Regions from separate parts of the Homo sapiens genome. Here all the other regions are linked to region 2. The links are contacts of gene promoters, found by promoter capture Hi-C in blood cells and fetal thymus (Javierre and others, 2016). All regions are on one chromosome and are shown on one strand. The core of a region is centred on a gene start or on the middle of the fragment in contact, and the rest is flanking DNA. Distances in the headings are between cores, read along the strand shown.

Region 1 (3,621 bases), core at 583-3,082, 420 kb after region 2:
TCCTCCTCTTCCTCTTCCTCTTCTTCCTCCTCTCTGGGAGGCATATGCCAGGGAGGCTCAACCAGATTCATCTTGGGCAAGGGAGAGGGGAGGTTTGGCAGCTCTTGAGCCTGGCTGGTGTCTTCAATGGAACCTGCCTTCTCAGTTAAGTCAGGAAAAACATAATCTAAGGACAGAGATGAAAAGTTCATTCACTTGTTTCATCATTCATTGCTTTACTCAGTATTTACTGGGCAGATGGCATAAAAGAACCACAATACACTGACAGGGCAGGGGTCATCAGGTCATGATGGAGAGGCCAGGGGAGCAGACTGTGGGAGGACACAGGGACAAGGCTAGTCACTGTTTCCTTTATGATGATAAAATAATACAAATTTATCACCAAAACTCAATGAACACAGGAATGTAGAAAGTTTTGTATATTGCATTCCTCCAAAAGAGCCATGAGTAGTTTGAGGTATATATTCTCCACTGTGTTTGTAATGTGCTTGCTTGTCCTCATCTGGGGATTTCACCAAGAAGATCCCACAACAACCCACTAGGAAGGGTCCCCCTACTCCTTTTCTAGTGAGTCGTTATAAGAGTCTTCTTGGTGGAGTCCCCGAAGGAGGTCTGAGAGCCCTCTCATCACTGGAGGAAGTGAGACCCCTCAATTATGACCATTGTTCCTCAACTGTGCTCTTTTTCTGTAATTTAGGCCCTGACAGGAAATGAAAAAGATGTAGGGAGAGCCAGAGAGAGGCCAGGGGCTGAGCCCAGAGTTTTCCAGGGCCTCCCAGAATGTTCAGGGTCACTGTTGGCAATGGGAGAGGGGTTTTTATTCTCCCTGCCATTCTTGGGAATTACATTTTGAAGCAGAGAAGTTAGGAGACTTCCTGGAGATCAGATTGTTTTCTGGCTTTTCAATGAACCCTAGGCCTCTTCCAAATAACTATGCATGAAAGTTATACAACAAGTTTTTTGGAAATTCATTCAAAATATCAGAAGCTGTATCTAGGAAGCAACTTTTATTGGCTGCCATTTTGTTTCAAAATAATAAATATTGTAGTTTTAAAATACTCTTTAGAAAGGAGAGTGGTGGGAACACTTTAAGATAGCGAACTAAAGGTATTCATTTACCTCCTCCTCCAAAACTTTTATCAAATGACAAAAACAATTTTAACTGTCAAAATGAAGATAAAAACATTTTAGAGAAATTTCTGGGAACATGGAAAGCAGATGAGATTATAGGAACAGATAACCCCTCAGCCAAAATAAACATAGGAAAAAATAGCAGGGGAGGAGGCAGGCTTTCTTACCCAGAGTTAGGAAGAGGCACAACTGTGGGAGCAAGGATGTAGAACACAGAAAATTCAGAGAACAGAAGGTAATTTTTAAAAGTCTAATTAGTATCCTCAGAAAGATTACAAAATATTGCATCCCTAAAATAAGACGCCACTCAGAAAATCAAGTAATCTTTAAAAAAGAAAAATTTCTTGGATATTGAAAGTCAATAGTTGATATTTAAAAATTCAACGGATTGAAAATTCAAATTTTTAATGGCTGGGAAAAAAAAAAGTCAAGGAAAAGCCTCTAGGGCAAAAGTGAGAAGACAACAGATAAGAGTTAAAAGATACAGACAACCAATGTAGGAGATCTAATACCTAGCTAATATGATTTCTGGAAAGATAGAACCAACAAAATGGAGAATAATGGAGAGAAACAAAGAAAAAAAGTTTCAGAGCTGGCAACATGAATCTTTGCAATGAAAGCTTGTATCATCAAGGTGAATGATAAAAGACTTACACCTAGCCTCATTCTCATGTGATTTTAGAATTATAAGGAGCAAGAGAAAATCTTAACAGCTCTCAGAGAAAGAACAGGTTATCTGTAAAGGAACAAGAAACAGATTACCAAATTATCATGAAGCTTCTAATTAATATCAGTAGCCTAGAGGAAGAATTTAAAAATGCACTGAAAAATCTGAGGGATGTTTATTTTGAACCTGAAATGTTATATCCAAATAAATGACTACTCAAGTGTGATTGCAAAATAAAGACATTCTCATACATGCAAAGATTTAAAAGTGTTACTATCCACAGATTCCAAGAGATTTAAGTAAGTTATTTAAGAAACCAAAAAAAAAAAAAAAAAAAAAGACATGGGAAATCAAGAAACATGAGAGGAATGCAATGAAAATATATCTCAGGATGGAAACTGTGCAGTAAGCCTGGAAAGCAATTGGTTCAAATTAGAACACACAGAGAGAGCTCTGAGAACGATTATTTCAAAAAGAAAAATTGATTCCCTGTAATAAAAAGTATGACTTAGAAGCTGAACAATCCTAGTGACAACTGAAAGCCCACTATAGTATTTAAATCAATAATTAGAATATTCTATCCAGTCCACTTCTGTTAATTAGACTTTTTGAGTAGCAGATCCTCCCCCTCTTCCACCTACTGCACACACTCTGTAGTGAAGTCACTACAGATAAATAAGAAAGAAAGAACAACCAAGATTCACAAGACATTTTAAGAAAGCCAGCCTGATGAAGAAGCATAAGGGTGGGACCATAAAGCAACTGACCTCTAGGAAAAGTTAGTCTAGTTAACAAAAGAGAATTCAGAAAAGTTTCTTGTTAATATCTTCAGAAAGATTCAGGAGGAAATCACACCCACAAAACAAGTATATAGAAGAATAAATATATTTTACCTCAATGTAAGTAAGAACTTTATAATAGCCAGATCTATCCAGAATTAAGATATAATGCATGAAAACATAACTGAAATGGGCTGGATGATTACTTGATAGGAATACTGGGTAACAGAATAGGAGTCAGATGGGTGCCTAGGAAATACAATATATGAAATCACTTACAAGCATAATATTTCATTATTGGAAGATTAATCTGACAGCAATTTACAAGATTAGGTGAAGGAGTAGATGAATGAAAGTGCAAAGAAGAGTCAGGGAGTTGCTGCAGTGATTCGGGAGAGATGCATGGCGGTGATGACACTGGAGATGATGAGAAAAGAGCAGACTCAAGAGATGACTCTGAAAGAGAAGTAATCAGATGCGTGAGCTAGATGGCCAACAGGGAGAAGCTGCGGGAGTAGCCAAGCCATTAATAGAGATGGTGAAGTTCAGAGGAAAGGAGTATTGGAAACCTTCAGGACGCACTTAAAATAGCTGATGGATTCAATGCAGCCTAGGATATGGCAGGAATATGGTGGATGGTGACACACCCATCAGCAGAATCCCATGGGGTGGGGAAGTCCTGGGAGGGCAAGCTGACTAAAACGATCTCTCTACTCAATTTGGTGCTGACTTTCCAAAAGTCAGAGAGAGCATCAACATCTCCAGAGGGCACCAACAGAACTCCCTAAACTGTGTACAGCCTCCTCAGAGATGCATCATCAGTCACGCTGTCGGCAGCATGATCTGGGACTCAGCCACTAACTTATCTGCGCACGCAGTGGTAAGTCCCTCCAACTTCTCTGGGCTTCAGGTTTTGTTCTGCTTTTGAGACAGGGTCTCACTCTGTCACCCAGGCTGGAGTGCAGTGGTGCAATCACGGCTCACTGCAGCCTCAAACTCCGAGGCTCAAGTGATCCTCCCACCTCGGCCTCCCAAGCAGCTGGG
Region 2 (3,583 bases), core at 1,077-3,576:
CAGCTGGGGTACCCCAAGAAGGCCCTGCTCTGGAGGGCTGTGGGCAGAGGAGCAGTGGGAGGGGACCCAGGGGTTCTGGGGCTCAGCAGGGCATGGTATTGATTGCATTTTCCTCCTCTGTGTGGCCCTTGGTCCTAGCCCCATGAGTCTTTGGTTTCCTGGTGTGTGAGTGGGAAGTTCATATCCCATAGACCCATGTGAGGACTTGGTGAAGTGACCCACATGTAGCTGTATCAGGTACCCAAGAGACTAAGAGGCAGTAAAGAGTTCCTGATTCCTGGCCCACTTGGAAAGAGGTCACAGTTTGTCAAACTGGAGGAAGCAGCCTGCTAGGCCCTGCCCCTCCCTATCGCAGACAGCTGGCACTTGGAAGGACCCTTAGGATCCCCCTGTGTTTGGAAAAAGCCCTGTAGCCCAGAGGGGCCAGCACTGGCTCAGGGCCACACAGCCCAAGAGCAGAGGGGGTAGCACGGGGCAACTGCCAGAAACAACGCACTGCTTCTCACTGGGGCCCTAGCATCCCATCCTGGGTGAGGCTCAGCTAGGGCTGAGGCAGCCAGAGGGGGCGAAATGACCACCCCCTTGTCCCAGCCAGTGCTGGTGTTTGTCAGGTCAGACCTGCTCTCATTTGGTGTCTGGGAAAGAGGTCCCTCGGGAGGTAGAACAGTGTTCACCCCCTTCATCCGTGGTCATCCATTCATTCTCCACACAGAAGTTCCTCTTTCTTGCTTCCTCCAGTATGCAGCCACTCCCCTTCCATTTGTTCTGGGGAGAGCAGGCCATAAGAGGATAGGGGGTGAGGGAGGCCTGGGCAGGGGGGCTGGGGAGCTTAGGGTGCAGGGCGGGCCACGCAGCAGGGCCCCGGAACTGTGAAGGGGTGGGCCGGCCACGGGGGCTGCCTGTCGTCCCCTGCTGCCCTGCCGCCCCTCCCGTCACTTGGCGGCAGGCACGGTGATTAATGGCCAGGCCGTGCGGGCTGGGCGGCCATCAGCGCGCGTCTCGGCGACGGATGCGGCTGTCAGGCCGGCCCGGCCCGCGCTGACCCCCGGGCAGGGGCCCGGCGCGATCAATGGGCGGCGCGCAGCGGGCGGCGGCTGGGCCGCCGCGATAAGATGGGCCGATGGGCGCCTGCCGATTGCCCGCTCCGTCACCCGCCGTCACCGTCACCGTCACGCCGCCAGCACGCAGATCAGCGCCGTCAGCGCCGCGTGATTAATGGGGACGCCGGCAGCTGCGGGGAGGGCGCGGGCATGCGGACCCCGCACCCAGAGGGACATGGTGGGGTGCGGGGTGCGGGCTGGGACGCCGCACACGGCACGCTGCACTTACACTGGAGCCGCATGCAGGGAACGGGGGACACGGCGGGATGCGGGCTGCAGGTCTGGGGCACACGGCGCAGGTTTTCACGGGGCTGCGCGCGCGCGTGTGTATGTAGTGGGTGGAGGTCCCGGTGCCACCGTGACACAAGGGCCTGAGTGACTTAGGCCTGAGGGGTGGGGGGAGGAGGGACCACACCTACTGTGACCTCCCCACCGCGATCCCTGCCTGGCCTAGGCCTCAGCCACCAGGTCCACCAGCCTCTTCGGTCTTTGCAAGCCTGCCCACTGTCCCAACCATCTTTGAGAACCCAGACTAGACGGTCAGGACCCCGACCCAAAACCCTTCCACAGGTCCCATGGCTAAATCCCAGGTTCCCCACCCTCCCGGCAGGCCCGCAGGAATGCCGGCCCCGCCTCTCCATGCCGGCCGCCCCCCTGTGCTCCTTTAGCTGTCATCGCAAGTGGTCCCGTCCCCCAGAGCTTCGTCCCTGGGTCGGGTCATGCTGTTGGGGACGCCCTGAGCGCTCTCAGCGCACCGTTGGCCCTGCTCGCTCCCCACCGGGTGAGGAGGGCAAGAGCCGGCTTCCCACCCCCCTCCTCCGCGCCAGAGCGCACAAATCCCCACTCGAAGCGACCTGCCTCTGAGGCACTGCCCCTCCAGAATAGCGCTGGTCCGCCGGGACCCACTCGGAACTCGGGAATCGGGAGGGAGAGGCTCGCCCAACCCAAATACCCACATGCCGCCAGGGAGGAGCCGTGTGCCAGGTGTGCAGAGAGGGGGCCGGAGGGCTTCCCAATGCCAGTGACAGGAGCGCAGCAGGGACAGCCGGGCGCGAGTGTGGGACTGACCCGAAGTCCGAACTGCCAAGGAGAGCGAGACGAGGGGAAGGGGGGGGCCCCGGCTGGGTGGACTGGGGCCTATCCCGTGGGCAGTGGGGATCTCAGGGCCAAGCGGCAGCGGAGGCAGGACCAGCCACTCTCACTTTTCCCCTCGAAAACCACAGCGTTCCAGGGCCGCGAGGCACCCCGCGGGAGCTTGCGAGGACACAGCGCCCCCGTGTGGGCGGACGCGCACAGAGTCGCGCCCGTGGCGTTTCGGGCCCAGGCTCCGCCCCCGCCGCGCTGCCCCTCCCCCCATGGGGGCGTGGCCAGGCCTAGCCCAGGGATCCGAGATTCCAAGTCACACCCAGCACGACTTGGGAAGTCGCGACGAAAGTGCGCGACTTCCCAGCAAGCGAGGTTGAAGTCCCGGCAGGCAGGGAGGAAGGCGTGTGTCCCCCCGTGCATGCGGGGAAGGAGCAGTGGGGGAAGGCTGAGTTGGGCTTTCAATTAAAAAAAATGTGCATACACTTAGTTTTTTGATGCAAAATTGCCAAAGGCGTGTACCGTGAAAACCTACCTCGACACCTGCCCCCTGCCTCCTGTTCCCTTTCCGGAAGCGCCTGCCTTACACCGGTGTGTTCCTCTAGAGATGGCCAGGACCTGGGTGAGGCAGCACACACTCACAGGACCTTCCCAACACTCATTATGAAACATATCACATGGAAAACTGCAAGAATTACAGGCAATCGCCTCTCAGCCTTTGGCTAAGATCAAGTGTAGTGTTCTTATCACTTTAATATCTGCTATCTGAGGACAGTATGTTAAATGGATTTTTGGAGCAGGGAGATGGAATAGGACCTTGCTCTTTCCACTCCATGCATCCACCTGGTATTGCAGTACCTCCAGGAATAGTGCACCCCCTTTGGGGGAATAAAAAAAAAGGATTGCAGGTGAGCCCCCATATCCCTGTCATCTAGGCACTGCACTGCCCATCCCCCTGTCTGCCTGCCAGTCAGTCTTGTCAGTCTTCTGTGCATTTCAAAGTGAGTTGCAGATACAACAACCTCTGTAAATAGTTAAGCATGTGTATAATTATCTAGAGTTCAGTACTTGATTATGGTTTTTTAAGTTTTTTTTTTTTTTTTTTTTTTTGAGACGGAGTTTCGCTCCTGTTGCCCAGGCTGGAATGCAATGGCGCCATCTCAGCTTACTGCAACCACCGCCTCCCGGGTTCAAGTGATTCTCCTGCCTCAGCCTCCCAAGTAGCTGGGATTATAAGCGCATGCCACCACACCCAGCTAATTTTGTGTTTTTAGTAGAGATGGGGTTTCTCCATGTTGGTCAGGCTGGTCTTGAACTCCTGACCTCAGGTGATCCACCTGCTTTGGCCTCCCACAGTGCCAGAATTACAGGCATGAGCCACTGTGCCCGGCTGCTTATGG
Region 3 (3,900 bases), core at 291-2,790, 440 kb after region 2:
CTCCGGACCTCATGATCTGCCCACCTCGAACTCCCAAAGTGCCGGAATCACAGGCGTGAGCCACGTGCCCGGCCCTAATACATCTTTTGACCTATCAATTTTATTCTAGAAATTTATCCTAAGGAAACCACCAGGAAGGTGCGAAAATGTGTAAGGATATTTGTAGCAGAATTAAAACTGAAGACAACCTAAGTATTCAACAGTAGGGAACCAGTTTAATACACCTGATGACCCACATGATGAAATATAACGTAGTTGTTAAAAATCAGGGCTGGGCACGGTGGCTCATGCCTGTAATCCCAGCACTTTGGGAGGCCGAGGTGGGCACATCACCTGAGGTCAGGAGTTCGAGACTAGCCTGACCAACATGGAGAAACCCTGTCTCTACTAAAAAAAATACAAAATTATTCGGGCATGGTGGCACATGCCTATGATCCCAGCTACTCAGGAGGCTGAGGCAGGACAACCGCTTGAACCTGGGAGGCGGAGGTTGTGGTGAGCCAAGATGGCACCACTGCACTCCAGCCTGGGCAACAAGAGCAAAACTCCGTCTCAAGAAAAAAAAATCAAGTTATAAGCCAGGCACAGTGGTTCACAGCTATAATCTTAGCACTTTGGGAGGCCAAGGGAGGAGGATCGCTTGAGCCCAGGAGTTCAAGACCAGCCTGGGCAACATAGCAAGACCCCATCACTACAAAAAAATGAAAAAATTAGTCAGGCATGGTGGCACATTTTTGGTCCCTGCTACCTACGAGGCTGAGGTGGGAGGATCGCTTGAGCCCAGGAGTTCGAGGTTACAGTGAACTATGATCACACCTGAACAATGGAGCAAAACCTCAACTCTAAACATAAATAAATAAATAATAACATGTTGTCCGGGTGCGGTGGCTCAGACCTGTAATCCCAGCACTTTGGGAGGCCGAGACGGGCAGATCACTTGAGGTCAGGAGTTAGAGACCAGCCTGGCCAACATGGTGAAACCCTGTCTTTACTAAAAATACAAAAATTAGCTGGGTGTGATGGCGCATGCCTGTAATCCCAGCTACTCGGAGGCTGAGGCAGGAGAATCACTTGAACTCAGGAAATGAAGGTTACAGTGAGCCAAGGTCACGCCACTGCACTCTAGCCCAGGTGACAGAGCAAGACTCCATCTCAAAAAAATAAATAAATAATAACATGTTTAAAAATCAGGTTATAAATGGATATTTAACAATGCGGAAATATACTTATGAAATATTTTGAGTGAAAACAAAATGTCCCTATGATTCCAATTTTGCACATAAAGTGACTAGAACAATGTATCCCCAAACTACTAATAGTAATTATCTTTCAATTATCAGGTTATAGGTAGTTTTTATTTTTTATTTTATTTTATTTTTTTTTGAGATAGAGTTTTGTTCTTGTCGCCCAGGCTGGAGAGCAGTGGTGCGATCTCAGCTCACTGCAACCTCCACCTCCCGGGTTCAAGCCATTCTCCTGCCTCAGCCTCCTGAGTAGATGGGATTACAGATGCCCGCAATCATGTCCAGCTAATTTTTGTATTTTTAGTGGAGACAGGGTTTCACCATGTTGGCCAGGCTGTTCTCAAACTCCTGACCCCAAGTGATCCACCCGCCTCAGCCTCCCAAAGTGCTGGGATTACAGACGTGAGCCACCACACCCAGCCTTATTTTCTTCTTTGTATTATTTTTGTGTGTTTCAGATTTTCTACAATGTTCATGTGTTCTTTTATAATTAGAAAAGGTAAATCCAATAAATATTACCTATTTTAAAAAGAAAAATTAAAGGTTAAGTTCTGTAACACCTTGCCCCATGTGCACACACAATCACACCAATTCCTCAGTCCCTACTAAGAGATGGGGCCCTGCTGGCCCAGGACATTGGTGGAGGGGCCATGCCTGCATCTGTATCAATGTCAGCTCATGGCGGTGGGCATTCAAACCTGGAGCCCTAGGCCTCGGGCTTTCTTCGGGACCCAAATGTTCACCAGCTGGGCTCTGTAGATCCAAACACCAGCTCTAGCTCTGGTGCATGACTGAGGGAAGGGCGGTTAGAATGCCTCAATTGCTGGTCGGATAGACTCAAGGAAACATGGATCAGCTGACCTTGTGGCAATCTTCAACAGAGACAGCATAGAGCAGTAGGGAAAAACAAAACAATGAGCCCCAGGGCTTGGAAAGCCATAGGTCTGAATCATGACTGAGCATCTGAGCTGCTGTTTGACCTCAGGCCAGCTTTTAACCTCTCAGTCTCAGTGTTTTCTTGTCTACAAGGGGGGTCATATTACTTATCTCTCAGGTTATAAGCATCAGATTGAATTAAATGAGCACAGAATAAAGGCTCCCTAAACAGTGGTTAGTATTAAAGAGAAAGGGCCTCCTGGGCCTGTGAGACATTCAGGGTCCCAGAGCCTTTGCTCTGATGTGCAGGTAAACAGCAGCAGCATGGTAAAAACTGTAGGGAGAGAGAAGAGATGCTTCTGGCAAGGAAATGGTCACCTGGTGTTTTGCCTAGACACTTGGCTGGCACTCAACACATGCTCTGTAGGTAAGAAGAGCTACCTGCAGTGGGTCCCAGGTCCAGACTTGAGTCATTCAGCTCTTCCTCCTCTTCCCAGAAGTACTGTGGTGGCTGCAGAATCCGAGACTCTTCATTCTCTTCGCTGGGGAAGCCTGAGCCAGGGGCTCCCAGCCCAGCTCCCAGGCCCATGGTCTCACTAGGCTCCTCTGAGTCCAGTGGCTCCAAGCCAGTGGGCAGCAGGAGGTCTAGCAGGGAGGTGGAGGTGAGGCCCTCTGGGCCAGGCTCATCAGACCCAGCCACACAGGCACCCAGGAACGCTCCTGTGCAGACATAAAAGCCAGACAGTCAGGGGAGGCTAGAGAAGACACAAGACTGGTGCCAGGTTAGAGCATGTCTCAAATGACAAAGGTCCTGGGGAAGGGGGGACTTCAGTGGACACTCCTGAAAACCCAGAGGCTTTGCGGGGATTCTGAGACACTATTTTCATTTCAAAAAGGCCAAATTGCTTAGACTTCCCTATGGCAGGGGCAAGGGGAGACAGATGGAGACAGGCAGGGGAGAGAGAGGAATCACTGAGTCAGTGTTCCACTGCGCATGTGGTCACTCAGAAAATGCCTCCTGAGTACCCTCTCTCTGTTGGCAATTGTACTGGGTGTTGGAGCTACAAACTGAAGTGAAGACAGGGCCCATGCTTTTAAGGACCTAGCAGTATGATTGGACGAACACAGTGTTCCCCAGGCTTCCATCCTTGGCTGAAATTTCTCCAAAACTGCATTATGAATATCATTTGTATTTCAGCAATACAGTATCCTGAACATAGTCTTTAGTTTTTTTATTTTTTATTTTTTTTGAGATGGAGTCTTGCTCTGTCGCCCAGGCTGGAGTACAGTGGTGCAATCTTGGCTCACTGCAATCTCCGCCTCCCAGGTTCAAGTGATTCTCCTGCCTCAGCCCCCCAAGTAGCTGGCATTACAGGTGCCCACCACCACGCCTGGCTAATTTTTGTATTTTTAGTACAGACAGGGTTTCGCCATGTTGGTCAGGCTGGTTTTGAACTCGTGACCTCAAGTGATCTGCCCTCCTAGGCCTCCCAAAGTGCTGGCATTACAGGCGTGCGCCACTGAGCCCAGCCTCTGAACGTAGTCTTTTAAAAAACCACGTGAGGTCACAGTTCAAACTCAACCCAGTGCTGGTAATTTGACATATTTGTTTAGAATCTTGGATTCTCTCTCTCTCCTAATTTACCAAAACAAGCAAATAAATGGACAGGAAAACAAATTAAAGGAGGCCTTTTTCCTCTTCTTTCACTCTCATTCTTTAAGGACAGGAATATAGCCCTATTTGCCAGTTTCACAACTTAACCTCTAACTTAATGACCTA

What was found. Contacts are between HindIII fragments. The CHiCAGO score rates a contact against its expected background, and 5 or more counts as called.
Region 1: a contact is called between a fragment that was not itself captured here and the fragment with the promoter of RUVBL1-AS1 in region 2, in 5 of 17 cell types (megakaryocytes, endothelial precursors, naive B cells and 2 more). The highest score is 9.8, in megakaryocytes.
Region 3: a contact is called between a fragment that was not itself captured here and the fragment with the promoter of RUVBL1-AS1 in region 2, in 1 of 17 cell types (megakaryocytes). The highest score is 5.5, in megakaryocytes.

The regions. Positions count from the first base shown.
Region 1 is chr3:127,656,923-127,660,543 of GRCh38, reverse strand. PODXL2 (podocalyxin like 2) reads right to left here. Exons shown (of 8, transcript NM_015720.4): 3 at 1-166. Among named protein-coding and RNA genes, the nearest start is that of ABTB1, 14 kb to the left of the region's middle. The HindIII fragment of the contact is 157 bases long and covers 1,754-1,910 here.
Region 2 is chr3:128,074,553-128,078,135 of GRCh38, reverse strand. It overlaps RUVBL1-AS1 (RUVBL1 antisense RNA 1), which reads right to left and starts at 2,326. Exons shown (of 2, transcript NR_046645.1): 1 at 2,057-2,326. It also overlaps a transcript of RUVBL1 not described here and the pseudogene RNU2-37P. RefSeq lists silencers at 729-828, 2,170-2,609, 2,620-2,669. The HindIII fragment of the contact is 15,687 bases long and covers 1-3,583 here.
Region 3 is chr3:127,638,185-127,642,084 of GRCh38, reverse strand. It overlaps PODXL2 (podocalyxin like 2), which reads right to left. Exons shown (of 8, transcript NM_015720.4): 2 at 2,562-2,840. Among named protein-coding and RNA genes, the nearest start is that of PODXL2, 11 kb to the right of the region's middle. RefSeq lists an enhancer at 2,740-3,240. The HindIII fragment of the contact is 5,314 bases long and covers 1-3,900 here.